Regions from separate parts of the Homo sapiens genome. Here region 1 is linked to region 2. The links are contacts of gene promoters, found by promoter capture Hi-C in human tissues and cell types (Jung and others, 2019). All regions are on one chromosome and are shown on one strand. Each heading gives the region's core, a stretch centred on a gene start or on the middle of the fragment in contact. The rest is flanking DNA. Distances are from core to core; before and after follow the strand shown.

Region 1 (4,094 bases), core at 339-2,838, 43 kb after region 2:
CAGGCATGTGCCACCATGCCCAGCTATGTCCACAATGTTTTTGAACATCTTTTGTTTCTCATTACCTTACAGTTTTTGTGTTTGTGAATGATACCGTTTTTCTTTATACTTTCTGGTTGCTTTCGCTGGTGTAGCTGGTGTTTAGAAATATCACTAATTTTTGTATGTTGATCTTGTATCCAGCAAGCTTAATGAACTCTTTTTAGGTCTATGAGTTTATTAAGAGATTTGCTTGTCTTTTCTATCATGGTGATCATATCATCACAGAGACAGTGTTGTCTTTTCCTTTGCAACGTTTCTTCCCTATATGGTGGTGAATACAGAAGATAATAGCAAGCAAACTTGCTTATTTATTCCCAATTTAGAAATGCTTCAAAAGTTTTCCCATTTAGCGTGATGTTTACAGAGGCTTTTGCGAGTTATTTTTAAAAATCAGATTAAGGAAGTTTCCTTCTATTCTTCATTTTCAAGAAGTTATTATTTTTTAAAATCATGAGTGAATACAGACTTTTGTTGAATGCACTTTAGGTCTCTGTAATTTTTTTTAATGAATAGATAGAATTTATTTCAGAAATTATTAACTCAATGTACTAAACAACATTAATAGGAAAAATCCTCACTAAAAAAGTTTGATAACATTTAGTATTTATTTAGAATTAGGATTAGAAAGAAAATGTTTTAATGTTGAAAACCTTCCCTCCGACAGTGAGATGATACAAGGATGCCCAACATTTATACAGCACTGTTCTATAGTTATTATTGGTCCCTGTAATATTGAGTTAAATTCATTTGTCTTTTCAAGAAGACCTGAAGTCATTTGCACCCATAGTTTCAGTTTTATTTATTGCTTTTTTTTTTTTTTTTTGAGACTGAGTTTTGCTCTGTCGCCCAGGCTGGAGTGAAGTGGCGTAATCTCAGCTCACTGCAACCTCCATCTCCCGGGTTCAAGCAATTCTCCCACCTCAGCCTCCAGAGTAGCTGGGATTACAGGTGCCCACCACCACGCCCGGCTAATTTTTGTGAAATTAGTAGAGACAGGGTTTCACTATGCTGGCCAGGCTGGTCTTGAACTCTTGACCTCAGGCAATCAACCCACCTCAGCCTCCCAAAGTGCTGGGATTACAGGCGTGAGCCACCGCGCCCGGATATTTACTGCTTTAATCTTCTGATTCACTATGATTTGCATCTTGAATTGTTTTTATACTTTCTCTATTTAATATTACATGTTCATAGTAGAGGAGATTGCCTCAAATTAAAAGCTTCTATAAGCTTTTAACTAAAAATCTGATAGGCGTATTGTGTTGAATTAGGACCCAACCCCACAAAGATATACTCATGTTCTAACCTCTGGAACCTATAATGTGATCTTATTTGAAAATGCGTCTTTGCAGAAGTGATTCAGTTAAGAATCTCAAGATAAGATCATCCTATATTATCTAGGTGGGCTGTAAATCCAACAAGTGTCCTTCCAAGAGACACACAAAGGAAGAACATAGGGCAGATGGAGGAGAAGGTCAAGTGCAGATGGAGACAGAGACTGGAATGATGTAGCCACAAGCCAAGGGGTGCTTTCCCCTGGAGCCTTCGACAGCTTGATTTGGGACTTACTACCTCCAGAACTGTAAGAGAATTGATTTCTGTTGTTTTAAGCCACTCAATTTGTGGTAATTTGTTGTGGCAGCCTTACGAAAGCCTAGTGAAGTTGGCATTCTTTATTCTGATTATTGATTCTTTTTCTATTTTACATGTTGTAAACCTCTTCTATAGTCTGTCATCCTTTAACTTTGCATAGGGGTGATTGTCATCTCTTTTCATACAATAAGAGTCTCATTGCCTTCTAAAACATCTCTTTTTTTTTCTGGAATGATTTGAATTCTTTTTCTGAAATTAAGGTAAAGGAGGACACATAGTGATCTCATGGAAGGGTATGTTTAGTTAGAAATACTTAAAGTAGAGAAGTTAACATCGTCTCCGCATAAACACAAATCAACTTCATATTTGACCTAACATTATTGACAGTATTAAATGAGGAAGGACTGAGCCCATTGACGTGGAACACGAACAGGACATTTTTATTATCCTAGCAGAATCAGGGAGGGAAAATAAGTCTGTAAGATTTATGGAAAGGTATCTGAAAATCTATACAATCAGGCAGTCCTCAGGTGAAAAATTCTGTATATGTTCCTCTGTGTGTTTTAAAGAGCCGTTTCATTTCTAATATTTAAGATGTGACTTTTCCTAACTCTTAGTATGATATATAACTTGGTATTTATAAATATTTTCCTTTATACCTTTTACCTGCGAAATCTCAAATAATGTGGCTCCACTGTTAATAGATAACTATTTAGTAACTGAAAAATTAAGTATATTATCGAATAAATAGAAAATCATTTTCAAGCTTTCTAGGATGGGTTTTAAATTGCCAGTACACTCTGAAGGCATGAATCTCCCCTGCGTGGGTCACCAGTCAAGGACCTGCACGTGCATTCACATCATTAAGTATTTTTCTCATTAACTAAGAAGAATATTGATCTTTGGGTGAGGGCTTTGGAGAGGAGAAGCAGGAGTCTTGTAGCTTACTGTGTCATACAGTGGAGCTCTGAGATAGGTATTTTTCCCTTCAGTACTTCAGCCATGACCTGAACTACTGGAGTTCAGCTTCAACATAATTGCAGCACAGCAAGGAGTCCCTTCTGGAAACCAGCTGCTTGATCAGGGATTCATTTATCAGGGGGATTATGACTCCAAACATTTTTCTAGACTGTTGTGGCCATTTAAAGGGGGAAAAAAAGAGGAGTCTGGGGAACTAATTAGGAAGGAGTGGCTCCCCTCAGAGTCTTGACCTTAACCCTACTGAGAAAGTATGGGATTTACTTTACCTAAGTAAGGAAAGAACATAAATAGTTGGCAAAAATGCTTTGTGGTATGACTTCCAGCAAGTAATGAATTGGCCTGATACAGAGAGAAACATACACACACACATACACACACGTGCATGCACGTACACACCTATAAGAAAAACAACAAATGCTTTAAAATTGCAATTAAATGTATCATTATGACATATGTTATTATTTTGTATTTTCCTGGTTACAAGAAAAATAGATTAATTTATGATTAGCATATAGAGGATTTAATCTGTGACTAGCATATACAGGATATAACCTAAAAACTTTTTTTTCACATTTTGGTAGGTTATGGAATGTTAATACAATGAATTCAGGTGTCACTTTCTATTATTCTGCTTAGAATATTGTGTTTTGCTTATGTGCATTTAATGTCTTTCATTAATTCTAGAAAATCCTTAGTCTTTACATTTCAGCATATTACCTCTTCCATATCCTTTCTCTCTTCTCTTTCTTCAACTGTAGTTACATGTTACACCTTCCCAGGTTATTCTCCATGTTTTTCAATGTCTCTCCCATTTTTAAAAAATATCCTGATACATCTGTGGTACATTCTGGGTAATTTCATCATATTTATTTTCCAGTTACTGAGCTGTTTCAAATCTACTACTTAATCCAGTCACTAAGATTTTAATTTCAATGATTATAATTTTCATTTCTAAAAGTTTCATTTAAAACAGCAACAGAGGTTTAGTTTGAAAAAGTTTTTGGTTTAGTGTTGAGAAGAACTTAGAGCTTGTATACAGTTTGCAGAATTGCAAAAACTTCAGAAACTTGGCTTTTATTGACAGCATTGTGCTGTCCTCTCCCTTGCATTTCTTTAAAATACTAGTATTTTGATCTTCATAATACCCTTGTGAAGTGTTTACTCTTACTTCTATTTTATGGGTAACAAAACTGAGGCTAAGAAGCCTACCCAAGGCCTATAAATTAGTAATAAGTAGAGCTGAAATTAAATTCATGTTTTATTTCTCTCCTTATAGCCATATTTTTTCTTATTTAAGTATATATTGTTAAATAGTTGTCATGAATATACCATGGAGTAGTGGAGGGTCAAGTAACTAGGGAAAGATGTGCTAAATCCATTATATAAAAATTAAGATTTTTTTTTGGAAAAAGCTAAGTAGGCTTAGCCCAGGATAACTCAAAATTTTATTTCAGTTTCAAAGTAATTTCTTTTTCCTACTT
Region 2 (4,139 bases), core at 96-2,595:
GATCACTTTATGGTAATTCCTAGGTATACTTCTAAGCAAACAAACATATCTATTTATAATTTTATTCAACTCACAAGTAAGAGATATTTAAAAAAAACAAATTGAAAGTTTTTTTTTTCTTCCTGATGCAAAACTTAACAAACTCCAATTAAATTCAATATTGGTCTGCCAGGGAAACGACCATAAAATTTACAGAAATTCTCCCAAAGATGCCTTTCAATTCTTCTCCTGACTTTAGTTCTAACTATACCATTTTTTTATAATTCCTCTATAAAAATCGAATCAAATCAAAGACGACGAGGAAAGAAAAATATTTCTAGAGTGATCTTAATTAACTGATCATTTCAGCAAAGAGCATTAGCAATGAAGAAGCGGCGAAACTGTAGGGAGAAAAAAAAGGATGCATTTTGTTCTTCGTGTTTATAATCCTTCCTAGAGAACAGAAACTACGAGCATGATTTATGGAACTGCATTATCTTGGATTTTCTCCGCAGATTTGACTCAACTTAGTATCAGTGTTCTGTTAAAGCGCTGGAATAAGTGGATACATCTGCAGAGGTAAGAAACGTGGTTTGGGTCGGATGAGCCTCCTTGTTGCTGGAGGGTGCTTCGAGGACCAGGCTTAGGAGAGAAGGGGTTAAGTCAGACCCTGTCTTTAGCGGCGCAACGTGCCCAGTTTTGTCTGTTAAAGTCAACGTCGCCCAACTGGAGCCAGCCAATGGACGGCCGGGAGCGCCCGGGACAGCCCAGTGGAGGGGTGTGGCCTCAGGCTGTCACTCAGCAGTGAGGAATGACACCCGGGCGGGAGGGGGGTGGTACAGTGGAACGCAAGGGAAGGAAAGAGAAAAGAAACAGATAAAACCAGGGCAGGGGGTAAAAAAGTTCCCCGCGCCTCTCGGAATCCAGCGGCCGCGGCCGCGGCTACCGCCGCCGCCGCCGGGGGTGGGCTCCGGAAGAGCCTGCCCAGCAGGGAAGGGGAGGACGGGCCAGGAGCGAAATCCTGCAGGCGAGGAAGGGACAGACGCGCAAAGAAAAAGTGACTCGGGCTGTGCGCCCCGGCGGCGCTCGGGAGGGGACTGCTGCCACGGAGGGGCCCCCGCCAATCCTCCTTCACGTCCCCCGAGGGGGCAGACCCCAGCCCGCCCCTAAGGGCGAGAAGCGATGAGATAATCCAGCTGAGCTGCGAAAGGAGAGCGTCTGGCTCTGGATTCGGGGGGAGGGGGTCTCCGGGCGGGGTGGGCCTCTAAGGTGGGGGCGAGGGTCGGCGCTGATCCTGGGACGGAGTGGGGCGGGAGCTGCTGGGCCGCGCAGCAGTGGGCGGCGGCGGCCTCGCACACCCAGCTCACTCGCGCTGCGGCCGCCGGCGCTCTCTGTCCCGCTCGGAGCTGCTCGGCGCCCCAGCTGCCCGCCCCGCCGGCCGCTCCTGCCCGCGGCGCAGATGGCTGTGCGCGGCGCCAACACCTTGACGTCCTTCTCCATCCAGGCGATCCTCAACAAGAAAGAGGAGCGCGGCGGGCTGGCCGCGCCAGAGGGGCGCCCGGCGCCCGGGGGCACAGCGGCATCGGTGGCCGCGGCTCCCGCTGTCTGCTGTTGGCGGCTCTTTGGGGAGAGGGACGCGGGCGCGTTGGGGGGCGCCGAGGACTCTCTGCTGGCGTCTCCTGCCGGTACCAGAACAGCTGCGGGGCGGACTGCGGAGAGCCCGGAAGGCTGGGACTCGGACTCCGCGCTCAGCGAGGAGAACGAGAGCAGGCGGCGCTGCGCGGACGCGCGGGGGGCCAGCGGGGCCGGCCTTGCGGGGGGATCCTTGAGCCTCGGCCAGCCGGTCTGTGAGCTGGCCGCTTCCAAAGACCTAGAGGAGGAAGCCGCGGGCCGGAGCGACAGCGAGATGTCCGCCAGCGTCTCAGGTCTGCTGCGGCTTCGCGGGGATGGGGGCCGGGCTGAGGGGATGGACGCGGAGGGCAACCACGCCGAGTGGGGTGGTCGGCTTGAGCACCCTGCGCCCTGGGGCTCGGAGGCTGGCCAAATCCCGAAGTTCTGCGCTCTGGCGCGAGCTGCTCTATCACTTCGGGAACTGAGCCCGCGAGAGACCGGAGTAGCTCCTCAGAGCCCTACGTCCTGGGGTGAGGCCTGAGACATCCTGGGCCAATGTGCATTAGACTGGGTTGGGAGAACCGCTGCCCCTTGCGTTCGGGAGTTTTTGAGTTCGTCGCCAGTGCTTTCTGCCGTGTCTGTCCCCAAATCCCCAAAATCAGGGAAGCGGAAAAGTGAGGGGTTCAGAGACCTCAGGTAGCCAGTGACCTAGCTCTGGACCAGAGACCTGCCAGTTCAAGGTCCCAGGGCCGGGCCCCACAGTAGGTGGATAGGTGGTGAAGAACACCTCCGAGTGGGCCAGAGCTGAGAATCTGCAGAACTAGAGCTTTGGGGAAAGGGCTGGTTTGGCTTTCTCAGACCCCAGGTCTGGGAGAGCAGCCCTAGGCCGAAGATCCCGGATTGGGTCTTTAGTTCATCCTGGAGGCAGGAGAGAGGCCTCCTCAGCCGTGGCCTGTCCTGTCCTGTGGTCTGGAAGACCCGGGTGCCTGCCCTAGTTGGGTACAAGCTTCTGTAGGCCTCAAGCACAGGGGACCGCTGGACCTTTCTGCTGGAGTTCTTCGGAAGGGCGGGTACGAGACCGAGAAGCTGGTGTGGGATCAGGGTCCAAAAACTCGATGCAGGGGCAACCCTCCCTCTTTACTCTCCAGTCCATCCTCTCATCTAAGGCCTCGGCTCAGCCTGTTTCCATGTCTCTCACAGCAATCCCAGGCGGCTGAGGGTGAAAGATTCTAAATACCTTTGGCCCCAGGATCCGCCTCCACCTTCCCTTACCTGCACCAGACAAGTGTGTGCTGCGAGGACGCGCGCGTGTGTGCGTGTGAACTAAGTGTGGAGAGGCGCGTGAACCCAAGCAGAGAGACGGAAATGCAGTCTAGAATCCCAATGCTCAACGCTGAGAGCCGGGAGGGCTTTCGCGGATGCTCGGGTCGAGTGCCCCAAGTTACTGAGGGGAGCCTGGGGCCCAGAGAGGGTGGGGAGCTGGTCTCGACAACACAGCGTTGACACAGCGGCTGAGTCTGCCGCCCTCCCCAGAAGAGGCCTAGATGGGATACCCAGTGGGGCAAGAGTCTAAGACTGGTCTCCCGGGCCCAGGGCCTCCCAGACCTCCGCTCCGCTTGAGTGGGATCAAAGTGTATTTCCGCCCCACTCCCGTGACCCCTGCAGTTGAGGCCCGGCCTCACCTCGTCTGTGGCGCTGACAGTCTCTTGTTTCTGTTCCCACCGGGGTCCGCAGGCGACCGCAGCCCAAGGACCGAGGACGACGGTGTTGGCCCCAGAGGTGCACACGTGTCCGCGCTGTGCAGCGGGGCCGGCGGCGGGGGCGGCAGCGGGCCGGCAGGCGTCGCGGAGGAGGAGGAGGAGCCGGCGGCGCCCAAGCCACGCAAGAAGCGCTCGCGGGCCGCTTTCTCCCACGCGCAGGTCTTCGAGCTGGAGCGCCGCTTTAACCACCAGCGCTACCTGTCCGGGCCCGAGCGCGCAGACCTGGCCGCGTCGCTGAAGCTCACCGAGACGCAGGTGAAAATCTGGTTCCAGAACCGTCGCTACAAGACAAAGCGCCGGCAGATGGCAGCCGACCTGCTGGCCTCGGCGCCCGCCGCCAAGAAGGTGGCCGTAAAGGTGCTGGTGCGCGACGACCAGAGACAATACCTGCCCGGCGAAGTGCTGCGGCCACCCTCGCTTCTGCCACTGCAGCCCTCCTACTATTACCCGTACTACTGCCTCCCAGGCTGGGCGCTCTCCACCTGCGCAGCTGCCGCAGGCACCCAGTGAACCCGCTTGGGCTGAGGCAGCGAGTGATTCCCGCGCTCCGGCTCCGGACCGGCGCTGACAGCTGTAGGCTGTAGCCTGCACGGGGCGCCCCGCCAAGGAGGCACCTGGAGGTGAAACCCAGCTCCAGCTCCCGTTAGCCAGGACTTGTCCCCTGGCAGCTGGGCTGAGTCTGCCCTGAGGGGGCGCCTTTTTCTAATTTGAACAGAGGCACCCTATGGCCTAGGGGCCCTGATCGCCCACCTGCCTGGAAGCCCCTGGGCTCTATTTATTATCATGACA

Evidence for each region. The method cuts DNA at HindIII sites, captures the fragments that hold promoters and counts their contacts. A contact is called where the count stands out against the background at its distance.
Region 1: a fragment that was not itself captured here is called in contact with the fragment with the promoter of NKX3-2 in region 2 in 1 of the 25 tissues and cell types used here (dorsolateral prefrontal cortex).

What each region holds. Positions count from the first base shown.
Region 1 is chr4:13,498,884-13,502,977 of GRCh38, reverse strand. All of the region lies in intron 1 of LOC124900669 (a long non-coding RNA gene), which reads right to left. Among named protein-coding and RNA genes, the nearest start is that of RAB28, 17 kb to the right of the region's middle. The HindIII fragment of the contact is 4,032 bases long and covers 1-3,604 here.
Region 2 is chr4:13,541,714-13,545,852 of GRCh38, reverse strand. It overlaps NKX3-2 (NK3 homeobox 2), which reads left to right and starts at 1,345. Exons shown (of 2, transcript NM_001189.4): 1 at 1,345-1,904; 2 at 3,325-4,139. The coding sequence starts at 1,439. The coding sequence ends at 3,860. RefSeq lists a silencer at 3,420-3,549. The HindIII fragment of the contact is 14,287 bases long and covers 1-4,139 here.